4 separate regions of the Homo sapiens genome follow, and all the other regions are linked to region 2. Evidence: promoter capture Hi-C in 16 types of primary human blood cells and fetal thymus (Javierre and others, 2016). All regions are on one chromosome and are shown on one strand. Each heading gives the region's core, a stretch centred on a gene start or on the middle of the fragment in contact. The rest is flanking DNA. Distances are from core to core; before and after follow the strand shown. Region 1 holds the start of MAGEA8-AS1 (MAGEA8 antisense RNA 1). Region 2 holds the start of EOLA1-DT (EOLA1 divergent transcript). Region 3 overlaps LINC00850 (long intergenic non-protein coding RNA 850). Region 4 overlaps EOLA2-DT (EOLA2 divergent transcript).

Region 1 (3,884 bases), core at 286-2,785, 360 kb after region 2:
GCCTCAAAAAAAAAAAAAAAAAAAGAAATACAGAAACTTACATGGATGTAATAATCTTAATTTTTTATCTCAGTTTTCCTGAGGAAATCAAAACATAGTAACAATGACATAGGAATTATTTTGATAAAATGTAAAATTTGTTTGTTAGGCCACTTACCAAAAGTTAAAAAAAAAACAAAAAACAACCTTCTGCAGTGTGAATGCTTTTCCTATGGGGAGTCCTTTTAGATAACCTGCAAGTCAGAACTAATGAAAATAGTACTTAGAAATAGGTAGAGTGTGTCCTGGGTCATAAGTGAAAATTCTTAGTTTCATAGAATTTAAAGCCAAGAGCACAGAATATCATACTGGAAGAAAACATTTCCTTTAGACCTTTAAAATGAAACACTTTCAGCATCAGTCCACAACAGCAGTTAAAACCTGAGGAAAAAGGTTACAGGAGCTGACGAAAAAGTTAAAGGAGACAGTTATTATCTCAGCCCTTTTCAAAGGGGAGAGAAAGCTGAAAACAGTGAGATGCAATAACAGTTGAGCTTTTGAGTTAAAAAATTAAAATCCCTTGTAATTTTATTAATAATAAATCAATACCTTAAAAATGTTGTTGTTCTAACCAATTCCTTAGTGTTTTAGTGTTTTTTCCTTATCAATACCCAATCTCTAGAAAGACAATTATAAATAATTTCTTTTTAGTTATAGCCAACTTGATCACATAAAGTTTCTGTCTTATGAATGCTCTTTTTACAAACTTTATTATGGCTTAGAGAAACCATTTACAACATTCTTGGACCTCCTGTTGTATCCTAAACAACCTTTTTCTTAAATAACCAGTCATTTTATTTTAGGGCAAAAAATTTACCATGCAAGATTCATTTTATATAAAATTAGTCTCCTTTTAGCCTTTCTTACCAAAATATCTTATTATATCTATAACTTTCTTTACATCTCTCTTATTTACTGGTTCCTTTTACCTTGTTTCAAAAATAACCATTAAATAACATTTAAATTTAGACTAAACTTATTTCCCTTTAAATAAGAACACATTTTTTATGAAAAATGTTTCCCCATAATTTTTTTAAAGAAATTGGAAATGATCCATTTAATGAATATCTATTATTTAACTCAATACAACTTTAGATTCTAAACTATGTGAGGTTTATTTGCAAGCATTTATTTCATTACATTTTCCTAATCAATTAATTAATTGTATTTTTCAATCGTTTAACTAGATTGTTTATGAAAATTGTGATAGTCATCATTTAAAGTTATATCCCTATTAACCATTTTATAGCACGTGCATTTCAGGTATTTACCTCAGTAAGAATCTTAAGGTTAAAAAAATGGTATATTTTGCCAATATTCAAGATTTAGCTGTTCCCATTAAACTCAACAATATTCAGTGCCTTATTTATAAAAAACTATACAAAAATAATTCTCTTGTGGGCTGCAAGCTTTACAATTCTCCTGCGAAATTTTGACAACTTATAACACCTAACAGATATTAAATATTAAACTACTAGACCAATGAATCCAACAATAATGTATGTTGACCATTCTGAAGAAATTTCTAATTTTATTTTACCAATAATTTTAAAACCAACTTATTTATTAAGGATTTACTTAAGTAAGCTTATAAAAGCATTTGGGCTCCTATTTTTCTGATAAAGTATTTGATTTAAGTGATTTTTTTGTCTGTAAGCCAATTACATATATAAAATTAAATTATATAGATTATAAATCAATATATAAATATATAATTAAATATATAAAAATTAAATCTAAAGAGCTCTAATGAGCGCTTCTGAAATTAGAAAAAAATCTAATTTCACAGACCCTGAAATTATTTAAGGCCCCTCATGCAGCAGACGGTGGCAAGAAGAAAGAGACTGGCAGAAGTAAATGGAGAAAACAGAATTCCGTTGACTGAGAATGGTAAAAAACGCTTTTTCTCAAAAAATAATATTCTAGAAGAGAAAGAAAGCATAAAGGCCTTTTCAATATATACATACACACACACACACACACACACACACACACATATATAATATATATGTAGGTGTATGTGTATACATATATATTTACCTTTTTAAATTTTTGTTTCTGTTTTTCTCAGAGATCCCTGTTCTGAACATACACATACACACACACACACACACACACACACAGAGGCACACACACACACAGAGGCACACACACATATACATCTTGGATCTTAGCTTTTAATTAAGCTGACATAATAATTGTGCTCTTAAAAAAATTCGTTAAATCTCATTACCATATTTTGGCTGGGATAAACTGCTGATAGTTCAAATGTAACAAAAATATCAAACCAGAAAGGACTTGATTTAGGAACCAAACCGAGGCTGTCATGTGAAAAAAGAGCAGAATCTTAGCTACTGAACTACAGCCATTGCTCTTTCAATTTGGCTTGGCTACTAAAAGGTGGCCTTGTTATGTAAATAATGCACCTAAGGTAATCAAATTCTTTCTTTTTTTTCAGCTGCATGATTTTAGCCAATTCAGAGACTTTGTTCCCCATAATTTGGAACTTTCCTTTGGATTTGACCAAGTCCAGTAGAGTTGGCCAAATCCATTGGGAAAAAGACTAAAACAGCAAAAACAACAGTAAAAAAAACAAACTGAAAAACAGAAAGGCAGTTAAGCAAAACAAAAGATAGCACAGGATTACCGAGTACTCTATTGGTAAGTAGAAATTAAGACCAGCTACTTGCTAATCTTAACTTTTAGCCATTACGGAAAATTTCCAAGACAAAACCCCAATTCAGCTACTTACCTGGGAATGGGGCCCAGGCTGAAGACTTGTTTGTACATTTCTCAGCCCTGCTCTGTATGTAAAGCCAACATGTTATGTTCAGCTCATTGGAGCACCTATTCTATTTAAATAGAATGAGAAGTTGTTCACTATAGAATTGCAAATGAAAGCTAATTAGATTTTTGAACCAAATTTGGTGTAATTTTGTCTTTTGACACATTTTCTCATTTCTGAAACTTTAGGACTCTTTATATATTCTGCATAAAAGACTTTTGTTTGGCATACAATTTGCATATATTTGTGTAACTCCACATTTGACTTTTTATTCTCTGATCCATGTATTTCCCAAAGTAAAAGTTTTAATTTTGAGGAATCCAATTTATCACTTTTTCCTTTATGAATCACGCTTTTGGTGTCATGATTAAGACCTCTTTGCCTGATTTCAGGTCATCAGTATTTCCTCCTATATTTTCTTTAAAAGCGTTATAGTTTTTTGTATAACATTTGAATCTATGATCCACTGTGAGTTAATTTTTGTCTAAAGTGTGAAATTTTGGTGAAGTTTTTTTGTTAATAACATATGGATATTCAATTGTTCCAATATCACTGATTGAAAAGCCTAACATTTTTATAATGAATTGTCTTTACTCCTTTCTAAAAATCTCCATTGGCCATATTTGTGTGGGTCTATTCAAGGACTCTCCATTCTATTCCATTAATCTATATGTGTATCCATTAGCCAATTCCATACTGTTTTGATTACTGTAGGTTTATATTACATCTTAAAATTGAGCAGTATGATTCCACCATGATTTTCTGGTTTTTGTTTCAAAATTGTTTTAACTATTCCAGATCCTTTGCCTTTCCATACACTTTTTGAGTCAGCTTGTCTACATGTACAAAAATTCCTGCTAGTAGTTTGACAGCATTGACTTTGAATCTACAGATAGCTTTGGTATAGGTCACACATCTCCACTGAGTCTTGCAGTCCATGAAGATAATATGTTCATATATTTACTTGGACCTCTTTGAATTGTCTTCATTAGCATTTTGTCATTTCTCCACACAGATAGGGACTTATTTTATTGGTTATATAGCAAAGCATTTTATTTTT
Region 2 (3,698 bases), core at 1,199-3,698:
GCATCCATGGAGGGCCCCACAGGGGAAGGCAGGAGCAGGACGGGTCTAGGGAGGTGAAGGCCGACCTGACCTGCTAAGAGACGAGAAGAGAGGGAGGGGAAAGTCTTGTTCCTGCCAGGACATTGTTAATGAGAGGAGTGAGAAGGCAGCAGGTGAAGAGAGTGTAGCATGGAAGGCAGAAATCAGAGCGTTTTTGGGTTTCGTGCTGACCTGCTATTGGGAATGAAAATCAAGACTCAGGTGCATTCTGGTCCCTTTCTCAGGGTTAGCCGAACACCACCCGCATCCCTGCCTGGCCTGTTGATGCCATTCTTCCTAGGCCCACTCACCGCTGCAGCTGCTTTACTTGCACTTCCTCTCCTCATCCGACCACAGATCAGACCTCTGCTTCTCGCTGCCGCCCAGGGAGAGTGTGCACCTACGTGCACATTGCACCCCACTGCCCAGCACACCCAGGAGTGAGAGTGAGGAGCAGCTGAGAGAGTTGGAAAAGGGAGCCCTTATGTGGCCACCAAGGGCTTCCCTGCTAGCAGCCACACGGTGGCTATCCAGCTCATTATGCGAGTTCTAGTTCTTCAAACAAGAGGCCACGGGAGGAGCAACGGCCACCCACCATCCCGGGGATCCTCATTCATGATTTGAAACCACTCTAAGCAGGTTCTGGGGTGTTCGGCAGAAGCTGGCAACCATTCTTGTGGGGAAGGAACCCAGGAGGGGATGCTAGCATGCATAGGAATTGGAACTGGTGATCTGAAGGTCCCCTGCAGCCCTACGGCCTACATCCCATAAAGAGGGACCCTCTCCTCCTCACCTCATCTCCAGCATTCCTGCTTCCTCGAGCTTCTCCAGGGAGAAGTAGGCGCATCTCACTAGAAAAAACAAGAAAGCAGCCCTTTGCTCATTCAACACTTACTAAGCAGATACTGTGCCCTGGGCACCCAGTTTCAGAAATGAGTAAAACACCGGCCTTGCCTTCAAGGAACTCAAGAGACCCTGCGGCAGCCACAAGTCTTACAGAGCAATTACCACCCTGGGTTGCAAGAGCCTAACGTGGGGTGGGGACGGGGGAGGTACAAAATGCTATCAGAGCTGGAGACGAAAGTCTCTAATACTCGGAGTGGGGCTGTGAAGGTGACTTTAAAGTTGTGCCTTGAAGGAGGCCAGGAGCGCACCAGGACAAGGCCATGGGAACCGCCGGTGCAAAGCAGGGAGACCTGGAACAGCAGGCTGGTGGGGACCAGTGACTGAACAGCACAGCGTGAACCCAAAGAGTGTTTGGCTTAAGGGTGGGGAGAGCTGAGCCGACTCCCTGAACTGCTAGGACTTAAACCTGAGAAGGCCCAGCAGCGTTTTCACTAGAGGATTGCTGGGGACAGATTTGTGACTTAGAAACTGAGCCGATGGAATGTGGACGACAGACCTGAGGGAAGAAAGACAGAGGACTCCAGGTTGCTCAGGAGGCTCATGGAACAGTGCAGGCTCCAGACCACGAGGCCTGAATTCTGGAAGTAGCAGCGGGGATGCAGGACGAGGAGCCGTTTTGTCTCATCAGGCACTCCAGAGGCAGGGACCCAGAACTTGGTTATGAAGTCAATGCGGGAGACTAGATAAGGGGAGGGACAGAGGAGTAAAGCATGGCAGCACTACAGAACCTGAGCCCGTGACTGAGAGAAGAGAGTTTGAAAAGCAAGTTTGCCAGGGAAGTTGGGCTGTGTGCTGGGCGACTTAGGTCGGAGGAGGCAAGACATTAAGAGTGGGGATGTTTCTCATCACCTGCAAAAGAGACGTTAAAGAGACGGTTCCTCCGGACCCCACTGGCAGGCACTGACAGAGCGGCTAGGACACAGGAGAGCAGGCCTGGGGGGCTCAGCCCTGCAAGACTCAGCCTAGAGCTGCATAGACCCCAGTCAAGTGTTCCCGCCCTTCTTGCTGCTTCCGTGCCCTATGGGGGTAGACACTGGAGGTGCAGTTAGGTCGCTGCGGGCAAGTTTTGACTCTTGCCTAAGGGTGCATCACAGAAGGGCCTCAGCTCCCTCCCCCAGCTCCACCCACAGCTCCACCCCCAGTTCGGCTCTGCTTCATTTCACCAGCATCTCCACCCCCAGCTCCTCCTCCGGCAGCTCCGCCCCAGCTGTTCCGCCCCCAGCTCTTCCTCCTCCCAGCACTTAACCAGTTCCACCCACAGCTCTTTCCCACAACTACGCCCTCCTCTTGCAGGCGGCTCCTCCAGAAGCTCTAACCCAGTTCCTGCTGCAGCCCCACCCTGCTCACCCTGCATCTCCAGTCCCAGCTCCGCCTCCTCTAGCCCCGTCCCGCTTCTCCTACCCCTCTGCCCACCCCAGCACCTTTCAGCTCTTTCCTCCAGCTCTGCACTAGCTCCTCCCCCACCATTCTCACCCGCCAGCCTTACTCCAGCTTGGCTCCCCCTTCTCCAGCAATTTCCCGCAGCCCCGCCCCATCTGCTCCCACACCTCTTTGCCACAGCCCCGCCCTGCTCCTCCTCCAGGAACGCCCGGCTTTCCCTCAGCTCCACGCTGCAGCTGAGCTGTGCACCAGGCCCTCCCACAGAGCTTTCTCGTGATTCCACCCTACACCTCCCCAAGCCCCCGCTCCCCTAAGCTGGTTCTCAGGAGTCCGAGGGGTCCTCCCGCAGCTGCTCCTCGCTCAGTTCTCCCATTGCCCCGCCCTGCTCTTCGCGGGGCTGCTTCCAAAGCCCCGACCTCAGCCAGCAGTTTCTCTCAGCCCCGCCCCTCCCTGCCCCGCCCCTCCCCTCCCTGCCCCGCCCCGCTTCTCCCGCGGCTGCTCCCAAAGCCCCGCCCTCGGCCCCCTCCCCAGCAGTTTCTCTCAGCCCCGCCCCACCCCGAGCCCCGCCCGCAGCCCCGACCTGCTTCTCCTGTGGCTGCCTCCAAAGCCCCGCCCCCAAACCTTCCCCAGCATTCTCAGCCCCCCCAGAGCCCCGCCTCTCCCAGCCCCGCCCTACTTCTCACGCAGCTGCTTTAAAAACCCCGCCCCCAGCCCCTCCCAGTGATTTCTTTCTCCCCCTCCCTCCTTCTCTCAGCGGACACCTGCCTCCCCCTGCTGATTCTCAAGAGTCCGCGAGCTCTTCCTGCAGCTTCTCCTCGCTCAGCTCTCCCACGGCCCTGCCCACAATGGTTTCTCTCAGCCCCGCCCGGCCCTGCCCCACACCCCGCCTCTTATCTCAGCCCCGCCCTCAACCCAGCCCCCAATTGTTTCTGTCAGTCCCGCTCGGCCCCTCCCCCAGCTCCGCCCTCCTCCTCTCAGCCCCGCCTCCACCCCCTCCCCAGCGGTTTCTCCCAGCTCCTCCCTGCTGGTATAGCAGCTCTGGGCCCAAAACTCCTGCCTGGTGTCCTCGTCCCACCCTTCCACTTACTCTTCCTCCCTCCCGTTCCTTTTCCTCCTTCCGGTTCTTCGTCGAGGCTGCCGGTCTCGAGGTCCCCTGGCCTTGGCCTGGTTGGCTGGCGCGCATCAGGGCCAGGTAAAGAGAATAGCGTCTCCTAGCAGCCAGGGCGTGCGTACGTGCGTGATGTCGTCAGTGCGTGTCTTCGAGAATGCGAGATTCATAATGTTTGCTGTCTATATGCATGGCTGAGTACGTGCCTCCCGCGTACGTGCGTGGTGTGCATACATGCGTGATTGCGCGCCCACGTACGTTCTTCGTGAAAGGGATGACGGGAGCT
Region 3 (3,906 bases), core at 1,146-3,645, 330 kb after region 2:
ATTTGGAATTGTGGCCTATGGGATTGTGTCTGTTTGGATCCAAACCCACTAGATTCGCACACTGTATTCATTCATGTCTCCTAATTCTCCCTCTCCCTGCTGACGAAGTGCACAGATCACAAACATAGACTTGCTTAATTTTCATATGTGAATATCCCTGGAGGGCCCATCGTCTCTCAAGAAATTAACATATTCTCTGAGAATCCCCCTCATTCCCCTCCCAGTCACTGTCTCCCAAGGTAACCACTATCCTAACTTTAGTGGATAGAGTAGTACTGCCTGTTTTGATCTTTATTTAAATGGAATTATTGAGCTGATATTCTTTGGGTCTGGCTATATTTGATCAAAAATAGATTAGTGACCTTCATCCATGTTGTAGAAGTAACAATGGTTTTTTCATGCTCATGGCTGTATAGTATTCCTTTGTATATATCCCAATGTATTTACCCATGCTAGGGTGATGAACACTGGGGCTGTTTCTAGCGTGCTACTGAGGGCATGCTTAGACACATCTTTTGCCAAATGAATGTATGCCTTTTCACTAGTACATACCTCAGAGGGGACATTCTGGAGCTTAGGGTGTACGGATGTTCTGCTTTAGATCATACTCTTGGGTCTCTTTTAAGTCTCCAGCAGACCTATTGCCCACAATGTCTGCCTTCATCCCATTGTCCTTTTTCATTCTATTGGCTTGTTTTAGCAGACTGGCCTGTGGTCCTGCAGCATGTCTCACCACCATTCATTTGTCTGTATGCTGCCTTCTTGTGTCATTTAACTTGTTGCTCTTTCCCAGTGTTTCTGATCATAGGAAGTTAGCCTCTGTGACAAGGTTAGAGGCAGGTCTCACTCTTCTGATAAAAGGACTTCATCAGTGGTGCCATGTCTCCTACAGCATCCCAGCATGAAGCACATGAGTTCTGGTTTTTTCACTCTTTACCATATCAGCACTGATCGTGGGTTCAGGTGATGACAGTCTCGTTCCTCCTTTGACTGATTCCTCACTGACCTTTAACCAAAGTGTTTCATTCAACCTACATCAGTTCAGTCACTGGGGTTCTAGATATTGTTTCTTTTGTTAAACATAGCCTTCACTAGGCTTGGCTTAAATTTTTCAGTGAGGAACAGCTCTCCCTCTTCAACTGTGCCTGTAGAGTAATCTTAAAATACACAGGAAGGGCAGAATAAAAGTTTAATTCTTTCCATTGCTAGTCATGCTTCCTTAGTCTTGTCTTAGTTGTAAAAATTCCTGAGACTGTCCCTGTTTTTGATGATCTTAACACTTTTGAGGAATATTGGTCAGCTCTTTAGCACAAAATCCATCCAGTGGTATTTGTCTTATCTTTTTCTCCTGATTAGAATGGGGATATGACAGCAGATCCTCCCCCACCATGAGTGATCACTCCTGCTTGTGGGGCATAGAGAAGGCACCTAGACCTGCACTCACCAGCACCCCACCCCTGAGTCACCACCACCTCCAGTGTGACCACACACACAGTCTCCAGCAGGGGGCCCCCATCCCCCATCCAGCTGCATTGCCTCCGCCACTGTGGTGAACACACGCAGGGAGGTAGGCACCCTGGCACCCACAAACACTCTACCACAGCTGTTGTACCTCTGCCTGCACAGTGCAGTGGATTCCAAACCTCGAGGAGCCAGAGAACAAAGATGGGACCCAATACAAGTCCCCCAGAATTAGAACATACAGTCCAGGTGTTGAGTGCTGAGTGTTGGCCCCCAGAAACAAAGCCAGCCAGCTGACTTTTTTTTTTGAGATGGAGTCTCACTTTGTCACCCAGGCTGGAGTCTCACTTCACCTTACACCACAGTCGAACATTCAAGGTCATCAAATGGGATAAAAGAAAAAATCCATCCAAAGGTCAGAAACCTCAAAGACTGAAGGTACATAAGCCCACAAAGATAATAAGGATAATAAGAATCAGTGCAAGAACCCTGATTCTTGATGAAGAGTGATGCAAAAATCCTCAACAAAATACTGGCAAACTAAATCCAGCAGCACATCAAAAAGCTTATCCACCACGATCAAGTAGGTTTCATCCCTGGATACAAGTTGGTTCAATATATACAAATCAATAAATGTAATTCATCACATAAACAGAACTAAAGACAAAATCACACGACTATTTCATAGATTCAGAAAAGGCTTTCAATATAATTCTACACCCCTTCATGTTAAAAACTCTCAATAAAATAGGTATTGAAGGAACATACCTCAAAATAATAAGACTCATCTATGACAACTCACAGCCAACATCATACTAAATGGGCAAAAGCTTGAAGCATTTCCCTTGAAAACCGGCGCAAGAGAAGGATGCACTCTCTCAGCACTCCCATTCAACATAGGACTGGAAGTCCTGGACATGACAATCAGTCAAGAGAAAGAAATAAAGGGCATCAAAATAGGAAGAGAGGCAGTCAGTTAAACTATCCCTGTTTGCAGATGACATGACCTATATCTAGAAAACCCCATAGTCTAAGCCCAAAAGCTTCTTAAGCTGATAACTTCAAAAAAGTCTCAGGATACAAAATCAATGTACAAAAATCAGTAACATTCCTACACACCAACAACAGTCAAGCCAAGAGCCAAATCAGGAATGAACTCTCATTCACAATTGCCACAAAAAGAATAAAATACCTAGGAATACAGTTAGCCAGGCAGGTGAAAGATCTCTACAATGAGAACTACAAAACATTGCTCAAAAAAATCAAAGATGACACAAACAAATGGAAAAACATCCTATGCTCATGGATAGGAAGAATCAATGTCATAAAAATGGACATACTTCTCAAATCAATTTGTAGATTCAATGCTATTCCTATTGAACTACCATTGAGATTCTTCACACAACTAGAAAAAAAACTATTTTAAAATTTATGTAAAACCAAAAAAGAGCCCAAATAGCCAAGGCAATCCTAAGCAAAAAGAACAAAGCTGGTGGCTTCACACTACCCAACTTCAAACTATACTACAGGTCTATAATAATCAAAATAGTATGGTACTGGTATAAAAACAGACACATAGATGAATGGAACAGAATTGAGAACCCAGAAATAAGGCCACACACCTACAACTATCTGATCTTCAACAAACCTGACAAAAACAAGATATGGGGAAAAGATTCCCTATTCAACAAATGGTGCTGGGATAATTGGCTAGCCATATGCAGAAGATTAAAACTGGACTCTGGCCAGGCGCGGTGGCTCGTGCCTGTAATCCTGGCACTTTGGGAGGCCAAGGCGGGCGGATCACGAGGTCAGGAGATTGAGACCATCCTGGCTAACATGGTGAAACCCCGTCTCTACCAAAAATACAAAAACTTAGCCGGACGTGGTGGCAGGTGCCTGTAGTCCCAGCTACTCAGGAGGCTGAGGCAGGAGAATGGCGTGAACCTGGGAGGCGGAGCTTGCAGTGAGCCGAGATTGTGCCACTGCACTCCAGCCTGGGTGACAAAGTGAGACTCCGTCTCAAAAAAAAAAAAAAACAAACAAAAAAAAAAACCTAGACCCTTTCCTTATACCATATACAAAAATTAACTCAAGATTGATCAAAGACTTAAATGTAAAACTTATGAAAACCCTGGAAAATAACCTAAACAATACCATTGAGGACATAGCAATGGGCAAAGATTTCATGACAAACATGCTGAAAGCAATTGCAACAAAAGCAAAAATTGACAAATGGGATCTAATTAAGCTAAAACGCTTCTGCACAGCAAAGGAAACTATCAACAAAGTGAACAGAAAGCCTGCAAAATGAGAGGAAATTTTTGCAAACTATGCATCTTACAAAGATCTAATATCCAGCGTCTATAAGGAACTTAAACAAATTTACAAGAAGAAAATAAACAACCCCGTTAAAAAGTGGGCAAAGGACATGAACAGATACTT
Region 4 (3,754 bases), core at 67-2,566, 410 kb after region 2:
GGTTCAGAAATTTTCTGACTGGTATTAATAATTGGTTGAGTTATTATCTAAAGACCTGGAATCATTAGAAGGGAATGTCTGGTTTACGATAAGGAGTTGTGGAGACCACAGTTTTATCATGCAGATGAAACCTCCAGGTAGCAGGCTTCAGAGAGAATAGATTGTAAATGTTTCTTATTAGACTTAAAGAGTCTATTGTATCAGTCTTAAGGACAGTGTTCATGTTGATGGTAATGAGGCATGTCCGACTCCCCCTTCCTCATCATGTCCTGAACTAGTTTTTCAGGTTAACTTTGGAATGCCCTTGGCCAAGAGGAGGGGTCCATTCAGGTGGTTGGGGAGCTTAGAATTTTATTTTTGGTTTACATTCTTTCCTTCTGGCCAGGATTTGCCAGAGGCAACATCAATGGACAAACTTTTATTTTGTCCCATAGCATTGTGGAGGTGGTTTGGCTGCCTGCCCCAGGTCCATCCTGTCCCTTGGTAGGATCTCTATGGCCAAGAGACTTACAGCCAAAAGACTTATAGACAGTTTAAATGTTCTAGGCCAGACAGGAATGGACGTGGACAGGCATTTATTACTCCTTAACAATTTTGAAGTAATGTAAAAGCCAACAAACAGAAAGTAAAAGGCGAGGTTACAAAATTGCCTTATCTATCTTTAACTTCTATGCATTGAGCTACTGTAGTCTTGGTTTTAGTTACAGATTTTTAGCAATTGGCTATATAAGCAAGCCTAAATTTTAAAAAGAAGAGAAAATGAAGCATACATTTAAAAGTTCTTAAACTTTTTTTTTGAAACAGGGTTTCACTTTGTCACTCAGGCTGGAGTGCAGTGATGTGATCATAGCTTTCTGCAGCCTTGACTTCCGGGCTCAAGTGATCCTCCCACCTCCGCCTCCTTAGTAGCTAGGACCACAGGCATGCACCAGCACACCCAGCAAATTAAAAAAAAATTTTTTTTAAAGATGAGATCTCACTATGTTGCCCAGGCTGGTCTGAAATTCCTGTCCTCAAGCAATCCTCCTGCCTTAGCCTCCCAAAGTGCTGAGATTACAGGCATGAGCTACCATGCCTGGCCTAAAACATTTTTAATGGAAGTATAATTTGCAAACAGAAAACATGCCCAAATATTAAGTGAATGCACTGATGAACATTCACAACTTAACAAGATAGCCAGCACTTAAATCACAAAATAGAACACCGCTAGGACCTCTTTGTAATACCCTCCAAGTCACTACTTCTGCCCAAAGGTAATCGCTATTTTGCAACATTTTTTATTACTTTATATAAATGAGATCGTACACTGCGTAATCTTATTACTGTCTGGATTTTTATATTAAATATTGCTTGTGAGATTCATCCATGTTGTCATGTCAGCAATACTTTATTCTCATTGCCATATACTATTCCATTTTTATCAGTATACCATGATATATTTACCCATTCTGCTATTTGTACATACTGGAATTGTTCCCAGGTTTTTGTAATACAAGCAAAGCTGCTATGAACATGCTTGGATTTACTTTCTTTGGTGAATATGTATTACTGTTATGTACATGTCTAGAGGTAAAATTGATGATTTATGGGATATGCATATGTTTAATTTTAGCAGATATTGAAAAACAGATTTTTAAAGCGGCTGTAGCAATTTACATTACCACCAGCAATGTGTGAGTTCCATTTGCTCTCCGTCCTTGACAGCACATGTTGTCACTTAGGTGGGTATGCAGGGGGATCCTTTTTTGGCATGTTTACTTATTTTTTTACACAGTGCAAACTGGTGTGGTGTACCGTTTTATGGCTTTTGCCTAATGCCATCACTAAAGTTACCAAACAATTCCATCACCTCAGAAATTGCTTTGTACCGCCTCTTGGCATTCATCCCCTTCTCCATTCTCAACCCTGGCAGCCACTGATCTAATTTCCATTCCCATAGTTTTCCAGATTATCAAAGAAACAGAATGATATGGTTGTAACCTTTTGGATGTAGCTTCTTTCAGGTAGCAAAATGCTTTTGAGATTTAACTATGTTGTTGTGTTTTCAGTAGTTCATTCCTTTGTGTGTGTGTGTGATAGTCTGACTCTCTTGCCCAGGCTGGAGTGCAGTGGTGTGATCTCAGCCCACTGCAACCCCTGCCTCCCACATTCAAGGGATTCTCATGCCTCAACCTCCCAAGTAGCTGGAACTACAGGCGTGCACCATTGCGCCTGGCTAATTTTTATATTTTTAGTAGAGACAAGGTTTCGCCATGTTGACCAGGCTGGTCTCGAACTCCTGGCCTCAAGTGATGCACCTGCCTCTGCCTCCCAAAGTGCTGGGATGACAGGCGTGAGCCACTGCACCCAGTCCAGAAGTTCATTGCTTTTTATTGCTGGGTCATATTCCATTGTATAGATGTATCACATTTTGTTTATGAGTCCTATAGTTGAGGGATACTTGGTTTGTTTCCATTTTTTCTCTATTATGGATACATTGTTATAAACATTTGTGTACAGGGTTTGTGTGAACATAGTTTTTATTTCTTTTGAGTAAATAGGAGTGGGATTGCTGGGTTACTTGGTAAATTGCTGGGTTATAGTTCTTTTTGAGAACTTGTCAAACTTTTGCTGAGTGGCTATACCATTTTGCATTCCCACTAGGAGGGCTTGAGAGTTCCAGTTGTTCCACATTCTTGCCAGCACCTGGTACTGCTAGTTTTTCTGTGTGTGTTTTTGTTTTGTTTTGCCACTCTAAGGTGTATAGTGGTATCTCTTTCTGGTTATAATTTGCATTTCTCTAATGATTATTAATGTTGAACATCTTTTAACATGCTTATTTGCCATCCATCTAACTTCTGTGGTAAATTTTCTGTTTATATTCTCGTCCATTCAAAATATTGGGTTGCTTGTTTTCTTATGGTTAATTTTAAAAGCTTTATTTGGAAATAATTATAGATTTAAAGGAAGTTGCAAAGAATTGTATTCCCTTCACTCACCCTTCCCCAATGTTAACATCTTGCCTAACTATGGTACAATATTAGTATCAGAAAATTGACATTGGTACAATCCACAGAGGTTATTCAGATTTTACCAGTTATACATATACTTGTGTGTGTGTGTTTCTATGCAATTTTATCACATGTATAGTTTTGTGTAGCTTCCACGACAATCAACATACAGAACTGTGCCATCACCGCAACATTCCTCTCATATTACCTCTCCACAGCCTCACCCACTTCCTACTCTACATCCCTTACCCTTATCAACCACTATTTGGTTTACCATCTGTATAATGTTGTTATTCCAAGGATGTTATATACATGGAAGCATACTATATAGTATGTTTCCTTTTCATATTTGCTTTTTTTCCCACTCAGCATAATTCCTGGAGGTTCCTTCAAGTTGTGACATGTATCAATAGTTCATTCCTTTTTATTGCTGGATAGTATTTCATAGTATGGATGTACTATAATTTAAGCATTGTCAATTTTGGTAGTTTCCACTTTGAGCTATTCCAAATAAAGTTTCTGTGAATATTCATATACAAGTTTCTACATTAACATAAGTTTTCATTTCTCTGGGGTGAATGCCCAAGAGTGCCATTGCTGGGTCATTTGGTAAATATATTTTTTTGTTTTTCTGAGATGGAGTCTTGTTCTGTTGCCAGGCTGGAGTGCTGTGGTGCATTCTCGGCTCACTGCAACCTCCAACTCCCTGGTTCAAGCGATTCTCCTGCCTCAGCCTCCTGAGTAGCTGGGATTACAGGCATGCG

What was found. The method cuts DNA at HindIII sites, captures the fragments that hold promoters and counts their contacts. A CHiCAGO score of 5 or more calls a contact.
Region 1: a contact is called between a fragment that was not itself captured here and the fragment with the promoter of EOLA1-DT in region 2, in 1 of 17 cell types (total CD4 T cells). The highest score is 10.5, in total CD4 T cells.
Region 3: a fragment that was not itself captured here is called in contact with the fragment with the promoter of EOLA1-DT in region 2 in 1 of 17 cell types (total CD4 T cells); the score reaches 5.9 in total CD4 T cells.
Region 4: a fragment that was not itself captured here is called in contact with the fragment with the promoter of EOLA1-DT in region 2 in 2 of 17 cell types (neutrophils and activated CD4 T cells); the score reaches 5.2 in neutrophils.

Annotation. Positions count from the first base shown.
Region 1 is chrX:149,894,136-149,898,019 of GRCh38, forward strand. It overlaps MAGEA8-AS1 (MAGEA8 antisense RNA 1), which reads right to left and starts at 2,871. Exons shown (of 5, transcript NR_102703.1): 1 at 2,792-2,871. The HindIII fragment of the contact is 178 bases long and covers 1,447-1,624 here.
Region 2 is chrX:149,537,304-149,541,001 of GRCh38, forward strand. It overlaps EOLA1-DT (EOLA1 divergent transcript), which reads right to left and starts at 2,449. Exons shown (of 10, transcript NR_027455.5): 1 at 2,398-2,449; 2 at 1,421-1,603; 3 at 812-869; 4 at 330-475. It also overlaps a transcript of EOLA1 not described here. RefSeq lists silencers at 1,860-1,939, 2,690-2,999, 3,010-3,079, 3,112-3,302. The HindIII fragment of the contact is 11,440 bases long and covers 1-3,698 here.
Region 3 is chrX:149,870,630-149,874,535 of GRCh38, forward strand. All of the region lies in intron 2 of LINC00850 (long intergenic non-protein coding RNA 850), which reads left to right. Among named protein-coding and RNA genes, the nearest start is that of MAGEA8, 8.6 kb to the right of the region's middle. The HindIII fragment of the contact is 213 bases long and covers 2,290-2,502 here.
Region 4 is chrX:149,951,546-149,955,299 of GRCh38, forward strand. The region is part of intron 7 of EOLA2-DT (EOLA2 divergent transcript); the gene reads left to right. Among named protein-coding and RNA genes, the nearest start is that of EOLA2-DT, 15 kb to the left of the region's middle. The HindIII fragment of the contact is 3,193 bases long and covers 1-2,913 here.